Regions from separate parts of the Homo sapiens genome. Here region 1 is linked to region 2. The links are contacts of gene promoters, found by promoter capture Hi-C in human tissues and cell types (Jung and others, 2019). All regions are on one chromosome and are shown on one strand. The core of a region is centred on a gene start or on the middle of the fragment in contact, and the rest is flanking DNA. Distances in the headings are between cores, read along the strand shown. Region 1 holds the start of LPCAT2 (lysophosphatidylcholine acyltransferase 2). Region 2 holds the start of RPGRIP1L (RPGRIP1 like).

The links. Contacts are between HindIII fragments. The study calls those that stand out against the background at their distance.
Region 1: the fragment with the promoter of LPCAT2 here is called in contact with the fragment with the promoter of RPGRIP1L in region 2 in 1 of the 25 tissues and cell types used here (bladder).

What each region holds. Positions count from the first base shown.
Region 1 is chr16:55,506,811-55,511,406 of GRCh38, reverse strand. It overlaps LPCAT2 (lysophosphatidylcholine acyltransferase 2), which reads right to left and starts at 2,335. Exons shown (of 14, transcript NM_017839.5): 1 at 2,055-2,335. The coding sequence starts at 2,225. The HindIII fragment of the contact is 8,978 bases long and covers 1-4,596 here.
Region 2 is chr16:53,701,604-53,706,691 of GRCh38, reverse strand. RPGRIP1L (RPGRIP1 like) reads left to right here and starts at 2,833. Exons shown (of 27, transcript NM_015272.5): 1 at 2,833-2,889. FTO (FTO alpha-ketoglutarate dependent dioxygenase) reads right to left here and starts at 2,536. Exons shown (of 9, transcript NM_001080432.3): 1 at 2,463-2,536. The coding sequence starts at 2,507. RefSeq lists enhancers at 2,314-2,723, 2,338-2,838 and a silencer at 2,874-2,923. The HindIII fragment of the contact is 17,694 bases long and covers 1-5,088 here.

The DNA.
Region 1 (4,596 bases), core at 1,086-3,585, 1.8 Mb before region 2:
TTTAAACTGGATAATATGGACATTGTTTTTCTACCATGCCTATTCAAATCTTCCCTTTACCCAGATGATTCAAGCCACTGAAACCTCTTGTATCTCTGATCTATATAAATTTAAAAAGTATTTTTAATATCCAGACTTTGTTAAATCCCATTTAATCCAAGTAGTAAATTTTAAGTACAGTATATACTTTGTAGAAAATATATAGGATAACTATCAATATTATCAATATTAAGATCAACAAACAATAACAGATTATTTCACTTAATTGTAGCCCTCCTTTGAGTTATTAATATTCCAATGTAATAGACGAGAAAAGTATAGTTCAGAGAGGTTAAGTGACTTGGCCAAAGTCATACAACTAATAAATGACCAGTTCCTATAACTGACTAGCTATCATTCCATTATACTATAACTCTCAGAGAGTTATTTGGAAGAGATCTTTAAACAGTAACAAACCAGGTGATGGAAAAACTTAATAATTTATTATAGGTGCAATATAAATATTTGTCAACATTCCATGCTGTTTCTTTCCAAAATATGAAGTCAAATAGATGGGCATATTTTCATTTAAGTATGATTTAATTAAATCAGACTAAATTTAATCTTGAACAATGGTCTATGTATTTACAAATGTTTCAGAATGTGAAGACACAAAAAGAATATCTATTAATTTAAAGACATGAGGATCACATTTTTAAACGTTTAATTTCCTCACAAAGCAGTATTACTACATTCTTTATCTTCTTCCTCTCTCACACCCCTCTTCAACCAGACACCCATCTACCATTACTCAAGCCACCACCTGTGTTGTTTAGCTCTGCACTTAACCTTCCCCCACTGTAGAGGACAATGGTCTTAGTGCATACAAGCTGATTGCAAATATTATACTGCTTCAAATCCAAAGTAATGTGTGAGATGGACATGAAAACTTCAAAATTGTTCCCCCACCCCCCCAACCCCCGCAGAACACACGGACAAATGTGGTTAGCAGGGTCTATCTTGTTCTCTGATCACTAACTTCAACAAAGAGGAAGTCCAAAGAGTGCAACTGCCAATGGTAAAAGGAACCCTTTACAAGAAAAAGGAAAGGAAAGGAAACTTCCTTTGTGCATAACAGTATAGCCATTTTTAACAATGGAAAACAGCCTGGGCTACTACTTCTCATGCTTCAACTTAGGAAACGTTTTTAGGTGAAGACTGATTCTGGACCAAAACTTCTTGAACATCCTAAGCTGACTCAGTTGTCCCTTTTCTTTGATTCTGACTTCCCACCCTCCATCATGCTCCTGCTCAGCTAAATCTTTCCAGCCTTACCTGTTGTTCTAACCACAGACCTAGGCTCTCTGCCTTCTGCCTCACTCTTATCCATCCCATACTGACTCCTCTCCTTCCTAAGGCAAAAAAAAAAAAAAAAAGACTTCTTCAAATCTACTCTCCCGTAGTAGATCTGCCTCCCACTACACTCTCATAAACTCAAGTTGAAGCTTCTGTCACAGATTCACAGATTCCTTCAACCTTCTGGGGCATGGAATGTAGCCTGCGCCACCAGCCAGCTCAGTCTCTTCCTGTTTTGGATTCTCCTCTCAGGCCCGCATCTTCCCAGCATCTTCTCTCCTCCCGTGCCCGCTCAGACCATCCTCTAAATGTCCTCAATTCTCAGACACACATCTCCGCCCCTTTCAGGCTCACGGCCCCTCAGAAGTCCTCTCCTCTCAGATCCACTGCTCTTTCTTCCTCTGATGCCTTTGCTTCCCAGACCCACAACGCCCCTCAGACCCACGCGCCCCTCGACCGCCCTCCCCCGTCAGACCTACACCAGTCACCTGGACCCGCCCCAGACCCTGGCTCCCCTCGGGCCACCTCCCTCCTCAGACCCATGCCCCCTTCAGGCCACCTCCCTCCTCAGACTCTCGCCCGCCTCGGACCACCTCACTCCCTCAGACCCACGCCCCCCTCGGCCGCCCTCCTCTCTCAGACCCACACCCCTTACCTGGACCCCCCTCTGACCTAGGCCCCCCTCAGACCACCTCTCCCCTCAGACCCACGCCCCTCACCTGGACCCGCCTCGCGGAGCCGATCTGCGTCTGCTGCACGAAGGGGTTCGGCACCGGCGGCGGGAAGAAGGACGCCTGACGGGGCACCATGGGCGGCCGCAGCCCCACGTTCCCGACGCCGGCACCTGGCACTGTGGCCGCCACTTCCGCCGCCTGGGCGCACCGGCTCATAGTTGAGCCGGGCGTAGAACCCGGCCGAAGCGATCTACGCGGGCGCTGCAGCCAAAACTGAGCCGAAGACCTACTAGAGTCCCAGCCTAGGGCGACGCTGGGGAGCCTCTGCGCAGGCGCTGAAGTTACTTAGACGCCTGCTGCTGCCGCCCTGCCCCTTCGGCTGTGACACGCCCCAGGCTCTGGCCACACCCCCTCAGGCATCTGGCTCCACCCCCTTGGTAATATAGTCCATCCCCTCGGAGGGGAATGTTTTCCTTCCGAGCCAAGACCCTGAAGGGTACCCCAGGATCCCTAACATTCCACAGCGAGACACTAGGCAGAGTTCCCTGCTTTAGGGTCGGACGGACCTGGATTTTCAATCCCTTTTACTGGGCCTGTGACGCTGGCCAAATCACTATCTCTATGAACCTCGGTTGCCTTCCGTAAAATGCAGATAAATGTATTCTCAGATAATCCTAACCTGGATCCAGTAATGCCATTGAGCAACCACTTCCCCTGGGCTGTTCCATTAAGTGAGCTAATATTAATACACCCATGATGGCACTAGGAGTGGAATTTGTTTCACTCAAAACATAATGGACTGACAGGGGAGAGATGGTTCTCCAGAGGAAAACTGAGCTACTATTACCAGAAAAGGCAAAAATTACAGTTGCCCTCCACGCTAGATGAGGAACCTGACCCAGAAAAGGGAAATGTATTGGGCTGTGGCTCCCTTTCACACTGAGGAAGTTCAAGCCTGTTTGGACCTATGTGGGTGCTCGTGGGGGTGGGAGGGCAGGGGTTTGTCCCATTATCTGAGGACAGTTGATCAACCCTGAGTGGCTGAGAGTTAAAGGAAGGAGATGATAATCAACTCATCCCAACTGATCAACTCTTCTCACAGCAGGTAGGAAGGCCAGGATGAAAATCTGAGTCTGAGCCCTGGGGTTCTCCAAAGTTACCCTCTGAATGTCAGAATCTTCCAGCCCTACCACATAGATGTGTGGCCTTGAGTCAGTCACTTAACCTGAGTTTGCTTCCTTGTCTAGGAATGGGAGATTCATTCTAACTCCATAGAATTGTAGCAAGGATTAAATAAAATAATGCATGTGTAGTGTTCATAGAGAAACACTGAAGAAATGGCATGTTTTAAGCATTATTATGTTGTGGAGCCACTGACTTTTCTCTCAGTGTAACAGGGAACATTAATAACAGTGCATTACAGCCATGATAGAAGATTCCCCAGTCTAGGGGGTCTTCAAGTTGGGACTGGCAGACCCTTGAGACTCTTTAGCCAGATACCTGCACAGAAAGATGTCTTTCCAACTGTCAACAACCTAAGCCAGGCCAGGTGCAGTGGCTCACGCCTGTAATCCTAGCACTTTGGGGGCTGAGGAGGGTGGATCCCTTGAGCCCAGGAGTTCGAGACCAGCCTGGGCAACAAAGAGAGACTCCACCATCTCTAAAAAAAATTAAAAATTAGCTGGCTGTGCTGTTGCATGCCTGCAGTCCCAGCTACTCAGGAGGCTGAAGTGGGAGGATTGCTTGAGCCCAGAAGATCAAGTCTGCAGTGAGCTATGATCATGCCATTGCACTCCAGCCTGGGTGACAGAGAAAGACACTGTCTCAAAAAAGAAAAAAAAAGAAGAAGAAGAAACAAAAAGAATCTGAGTCAAGGGGACAGGCCATGGGAGGATAAAAGATAGAAAAGATGGGGCCGAGAGTGGTGGCTCACACCAATAATCCTAGCACTTTGGGAGGCCGAGATGGGTGGATTGCCTGATCTCAGGAGTTCGAGACCAGCCTGGGCAACACGGTGATACCTGTCTCTACCAAAATACAAAACAAATTAGCTGGGTATGGTGGCGTGCACCTGTAATCCCAGCTACTTGGGAGGCTGAGGCAGGAGAATCACTTAAACCTGGGAGGCAGAGGTTACAGTGAGCCGAGATTGCGCCATTGCACTCCAGCCTGGGTGACAGAGTGAGACTCCATCTCAAAAACAGAAAAAAGAGATAGAAACAATGACATCAGGCTCACTGAGGAGGTCACCTGTAGAGTTCACTCCTTACGCACCTTCCTCACCAGCCCCATCATAAGAGGCCAGAAGCAATATATATACTATCAATCAGACTATCGGAGCCAGAAAGGGCCTCAGAAAAACCCCAGGCCTTCAATTTCTGTTCAGCAGTAGCTCCAGAATTTCTATGTAGGAGATTAGGAGTGGGTAGACTGGTAGGAAGGAGTAAGGAGCTTATCCATTAATACCAGCTGTGTTTAGAAGCAAGCACAGTATTTCTCCCTTAGCTGTGTTTACCCAGCGTGGTTTTGGGGGTGGTGGAGGGTAGCAGGAGCGGTTTTGAAGGTGGTGGGGGTGTTTTTGAGGGTG
Region 2 (5,088 bases), core at 1,584-4,083:
CACAGTGGCTCACGCCTATAATCCCAGTACTTTGGGTAGCAGAGGCAGGAGGACGGCTTCAGCCCAGGAGTTCCAGACCAACTTGGGCAACACAGCAAGACACCATCTCTATTTTGAAAAAAAAATCATTACGCTGAATGAAAAAAAGACCCAAAAGTATACACTGTATGCTTCCATTTATATGAAATCTAGAAAATACAGATGCATCTACAGAGACAAAAAACATATCAGTGGTTGTTTGGGGGCCAAGGTGGAGGGACAGACTAACCACAAATTAACGAGAGGGAACTTAGGAGAGAAATGTTCGCTATGCCAACTGTGGTGGTTTTGCAGGTATATACATTTGTCAAAAGGCATCAAATTGTACACAAAAATGGTTGCAAATGACTGTATGTAAATTATACCTCAATAAAATTGATTAGAAAAAGAGAAGATAATTCATGAGCCATTGGACACTTTACATTTAAGATTTAAAACAACTACTTATACTTTGTTCTAACAAATAATATTAAGCAAACAAATTTTAAATGAACAGCCAATTTTTTAAAGAAAAAAGGAAGACAATTTGCTCTACTAATTCAACATGTTTCACAAGCAGAAAATGGGAAAAGCCTTGAATTTGGAGTCAGAAGACCTGGCTCAGAGCACTAGTTTCACCTAGCAACCAAGTGGCCTTGGGCAAGTCACGATTTACCTACAAGTCTCAGTTTCTAAATCTCTAAAATATGGATGACACTAGTAACTCCCTCACAGGCAATGGTTATGGTTTCAATAGAGTAAGAGCTTCTTTGGTGCAGTGATTCTATTTCAGCCAAAATTATAATCCCAACTTATGGCAAATAATAGGTGCTCAACAAATCTTCACAGAATAAATGAAATACTTTAAAAATAAACCTGAAAGATGAGAAAGACATCATGCACAACACCATGAGGTGACATTTGTTTCTTTGCACTGTGTAGACTAAAGCAGAAGGGTCGCCCTCTTTGTGCTTATCTTTAATATATTATCCACATCATATGCAGACTCAAGCATGAAAACTTCTGGTCCCTTACGAAATACTGCAATAACTCAGGTCAATATAGAGCAGATTTTATATTTTAAATCCTTAGGTGTATTGCCCTAAACAGACTCACGTGTAAGATGAAATTCTATGAAAGCAAGAACTGTGTCTACGTTATTTAACACTGTTATTCACTGCCAATATTTGCCTAACATAGAGTAGGCAGCAAATGACATGTGCAAAGGCCCTGAAGCCCGATAAAGTATAGTGAAGAGTGACTTTTAAGAAGGCCAAAGTGACTGGTAGGCAGAGAGCAGAGTGTCATATCCAATGGGGTTGTGAAAGCAGGTAGGGTCCAGATCATGCAGGATCTTGTAGGCAATGTGAAGTTTTGCCTTTATCCTAAGAGCAACAGAAAGCCATGGAATATTTTTAAACAGGTGGTTGGCAGAGTAAGGAGAAAGGAAAGGGACATAATTATATTTGCATTTCACGAAGATCTTACTCTATGGTGTGCAGAAGAGAATGGTAGTTGAGGGAAGGGAGAGAAGGTGGAAGAAGAGTTAAGTTAGGGTGTAGAGTGAGTGTAGGCCAATCAATAGGCTATTCCAACAGTCTATTAAAAAGATAATGGTAGCTTGGTCCAAGGTAGTGGAGATGAAAAAAAAAAAAAGTGGGCATATTCCCAATATACGTAGACAAATCAACAGGATCTGAGTTTGGGAATGAGAGAAAGGAAAACACTCAATGCTTCTGAGCCTCAGTTCTTCATCTGTGAAGCTGGGCTGTTATTTATACTCCATCTGTATAATATCTATCTTGCAATCTGCTGTGACAATGATATGAAATAATTTAAATATTATGCACTTAATACAGTGCCTGACCCACAATAAATGCTTTTTAAAATCTCTGTTGCCATTATTATGGTCATCCCATGGAATGGCAACTACCAGAAGCTGAACATCAAAGGTAGAGAGGAGCAATGTAGTTAAAGATTCATATCCACAGCGCTAAAAGACACAAACTGTTATCAGCCGGTCACGGAGACAATTGTTCCAAAGAAACACAGCTGACTGCACAGATATTTCATCTAAGCCGATCTCAGTCCTCAGAGACCATTATGAGAAAGCACAGCTGGTATGATCACAGTCATCTGAGAATCCGGTAAACTGAGGCACAGGGATGGCGACAAATTTAACCAAGGAATAGATGCAGAAGAAGGACAAGGAAATGGGTATCTTGCTTCTCATTTTTGAGCCGATCCAACAAGACTCGGCCTGCATCCTGAAGAGCACGAATTTGTAACATCCCCTCTAATATCTCCAGGTCCCTTGCTGACAAGGCCCTGTCATCCCTTAGTTTAACACCGCGCATCCGCTCGCCATCAAACCAAGCCCTTCCGGTTCCCTGATCCTTGCTCACAGCGCACGAAGATCTCCAGGCCCCGGGAGCCCGACATACCTTAGCTTCGCGCTCTCGTTCCTCGGCAGTCGGGGTGCGCTTCATGCTGCCACTAAAGCCGCCTTCGCCACCGCAAGCTGCGTAGATCCCTCGCCCTGGACCCCGCCTCCTGCATGTAGTTCTCTCAGCGTCCTGCTCCCGTCTGGAGCTATTCTCCCTCTGAGTAGAAAAAACTACAACTCCCAGGATGCACCGCGGCGACACCCGCGAGCGCCACGGGATTTAGCACAGGAGAATTTCCCAGGTCCGACAGCTGGAAGAGCGTAGTCCGCTACCCCGCGAGCAAACAGGCTAGAGTCCAAGGAGAACTACATTTCCCAGGAGGCTACGGGAGCCTGCCATGTTTCTCCCGTGCTCCTCTCGGCCAGCCGCCCGCCACGCTGTCGGCGCTATAGCAACGGTAGCTAGCTGCAGGGCCAGTGGCACGGTGAGTACCCGGGAGGATGGGGGAGGATGAGGGTGGGTGGAGGTTGCTGACCCTCCCCACTGCAGCGCGGGCCGGGGTCCTAGGGTCCGCTCTGCCGCCTGGAGAAGGCCCTGGAGTTGGCCCTGGAGTTCTGCTGGCGTGAAAGCAGCCCAGCCCAAGACACCTCCACATCCTCAGGCCTGAATCACAGGCCGCCCTTTATCCCCACGTCCAGGACCAATTTGAAATGTTATATCCCAGCCATGAAGGTGAGAGTTGATGCTGCTAATTGCCATCTCTATCCAGATCCTGCAAGTTGTAGGTCCCTAACACAGTTTGCTCATTTGCCCTGGATTAGGAGTTGGTTGGTAGACCCTAAACCTCCTGAGTGGTCTATTGTTTGCTTAATTATATATTATTTGTTTATCATGTGATTACCTCCATAACTTGCTAGCTTCATAAAGGCGGGGGTTTTGCTTGCCATTTTAATCTCAGTACCTGATATTCATTTATTCATTCAATAAATATTTTTTCTTTATTCTTTTTTTTGTGTGTGTGACAGGTTCTTGCTCCGTTGCCCAGGCTGGAGTGCAGTGGTAAGACCTCAGCTTACTGCAAACTCCTCCTCCCAGGTTCAAGCGATTCTTCTGCCTCAGCCTCCCGAGTAGCTGGGATTACAGGCGTGTGCCACCACACCCAGCTAATTTTTGTATTTTTAGTAGAGACAGGGTTTCATCATGTTGGCCAGGCTGGTCTCGAACTCCTGGCCTGAAGTCAGCCGCCCGTCTCGGCCTCGCAAAGTGCTGGGATTACAGGTGTGAGCCACCACGCACAGCCAATCATTCAATAAATATTAATGTTGGTTCCCACCCTGTACCAGGCACTGTTCCTGAACAGTTGTGAACAAGACTAATACCCGTCTCAAGATGTTTATCCTTTTTTAGTGGAGACAAACAATAATTTTATCTGATAACTTCAGATAGAGGCAGTTGCTATAAGAGATACAAGCCATGCTTGGTGGCACGCACATGTAGTTCCAGCTACTCGGGAGGCTGAGGTGGGAGGATCACTTGAACCCATGAATTCAAGGCCAGCCCGGGCAACATAGCAAGACCCTGTCTCAAAAAAAAAAAAAAGAAAAGAAAAGAAATAAACAGTGAAGAAATGTAAGGAAGACTACTCTAACATAGGATGGTCAGGGAAAACCTGTCTGAGGAAGTGAACTGAGCTCCAAAGATTAAGGAACCAGCTAATACAAAGGCCTTGAGCAAGACAAGGGTATGGGGGGTTCGAGGAAAGTAAAGAATAATGTAAGTGAAGCATAGTGAGCAAAGAAGGATAACATAAGATGGTGTTGGAGAGGCATTGCAGCATTGTGCAGGGTTTTTCAGCTTCTACACTATTATTAACATTTTGGGCTGGATAATTCATTATTATGTCTCCTAAGCACTGTAAGATATTTAGCATCATCCATGGCCTCTACTCACTAGATGCCAGTAGCATCCCGCTTCCTTGTTGTGACAACCAAAAATATCACCAGACACAACTATTAATACTTTCAACTACCACCTTAAGTGAGTTAACTAATCTGTGTCTCAGCTTCCTCATTTGTAAAGCAGGAATCATTTGAGTAACAGCCTCACAAGGATATGGTGAGACACTTCATTCCTATAACAGAACACTTAGAACAGTACCTGGCACATAGTAAGCGTTCAATGAATGTTAACACCATCATCATCATCATCATCATTATTATTTTTAAAGTGACCTTAACTCTGTCATGGAAAACTAATCATTTTCATACACGGGCCTATGTGTCAACAGGATCCTAAAAATTGACCTTTTCTATAGGAGTACTTCCAAAAGAAGTAGATGATCTCCCAAGGATTTGTCTGTTAGCTGTTTCTGTAAAAGCAAAATGCAATGGTTCTCCACCATTTGCGAGTTGTAATAAAAGTTATGAACCCTCTTTAAAAGATATTGCATATATACATATACATACAAAATTTGGTAAACCATCTCTGGGTTCACAGACCCTGAAACCCCATGGACTCCATTCACTCACTCAACAACTATTTAATGAATGCCTGCTCTCAGAATGCACCACGCTCTATGCTAGCCTCCAAGAATACAGAGCTGAACAAGACAATGAAGCTTGCTACTGTCTTGGTCTTTACATTCTAGAACCAATATCCTAGAGCTTAAGAACTCTGCCCTTTA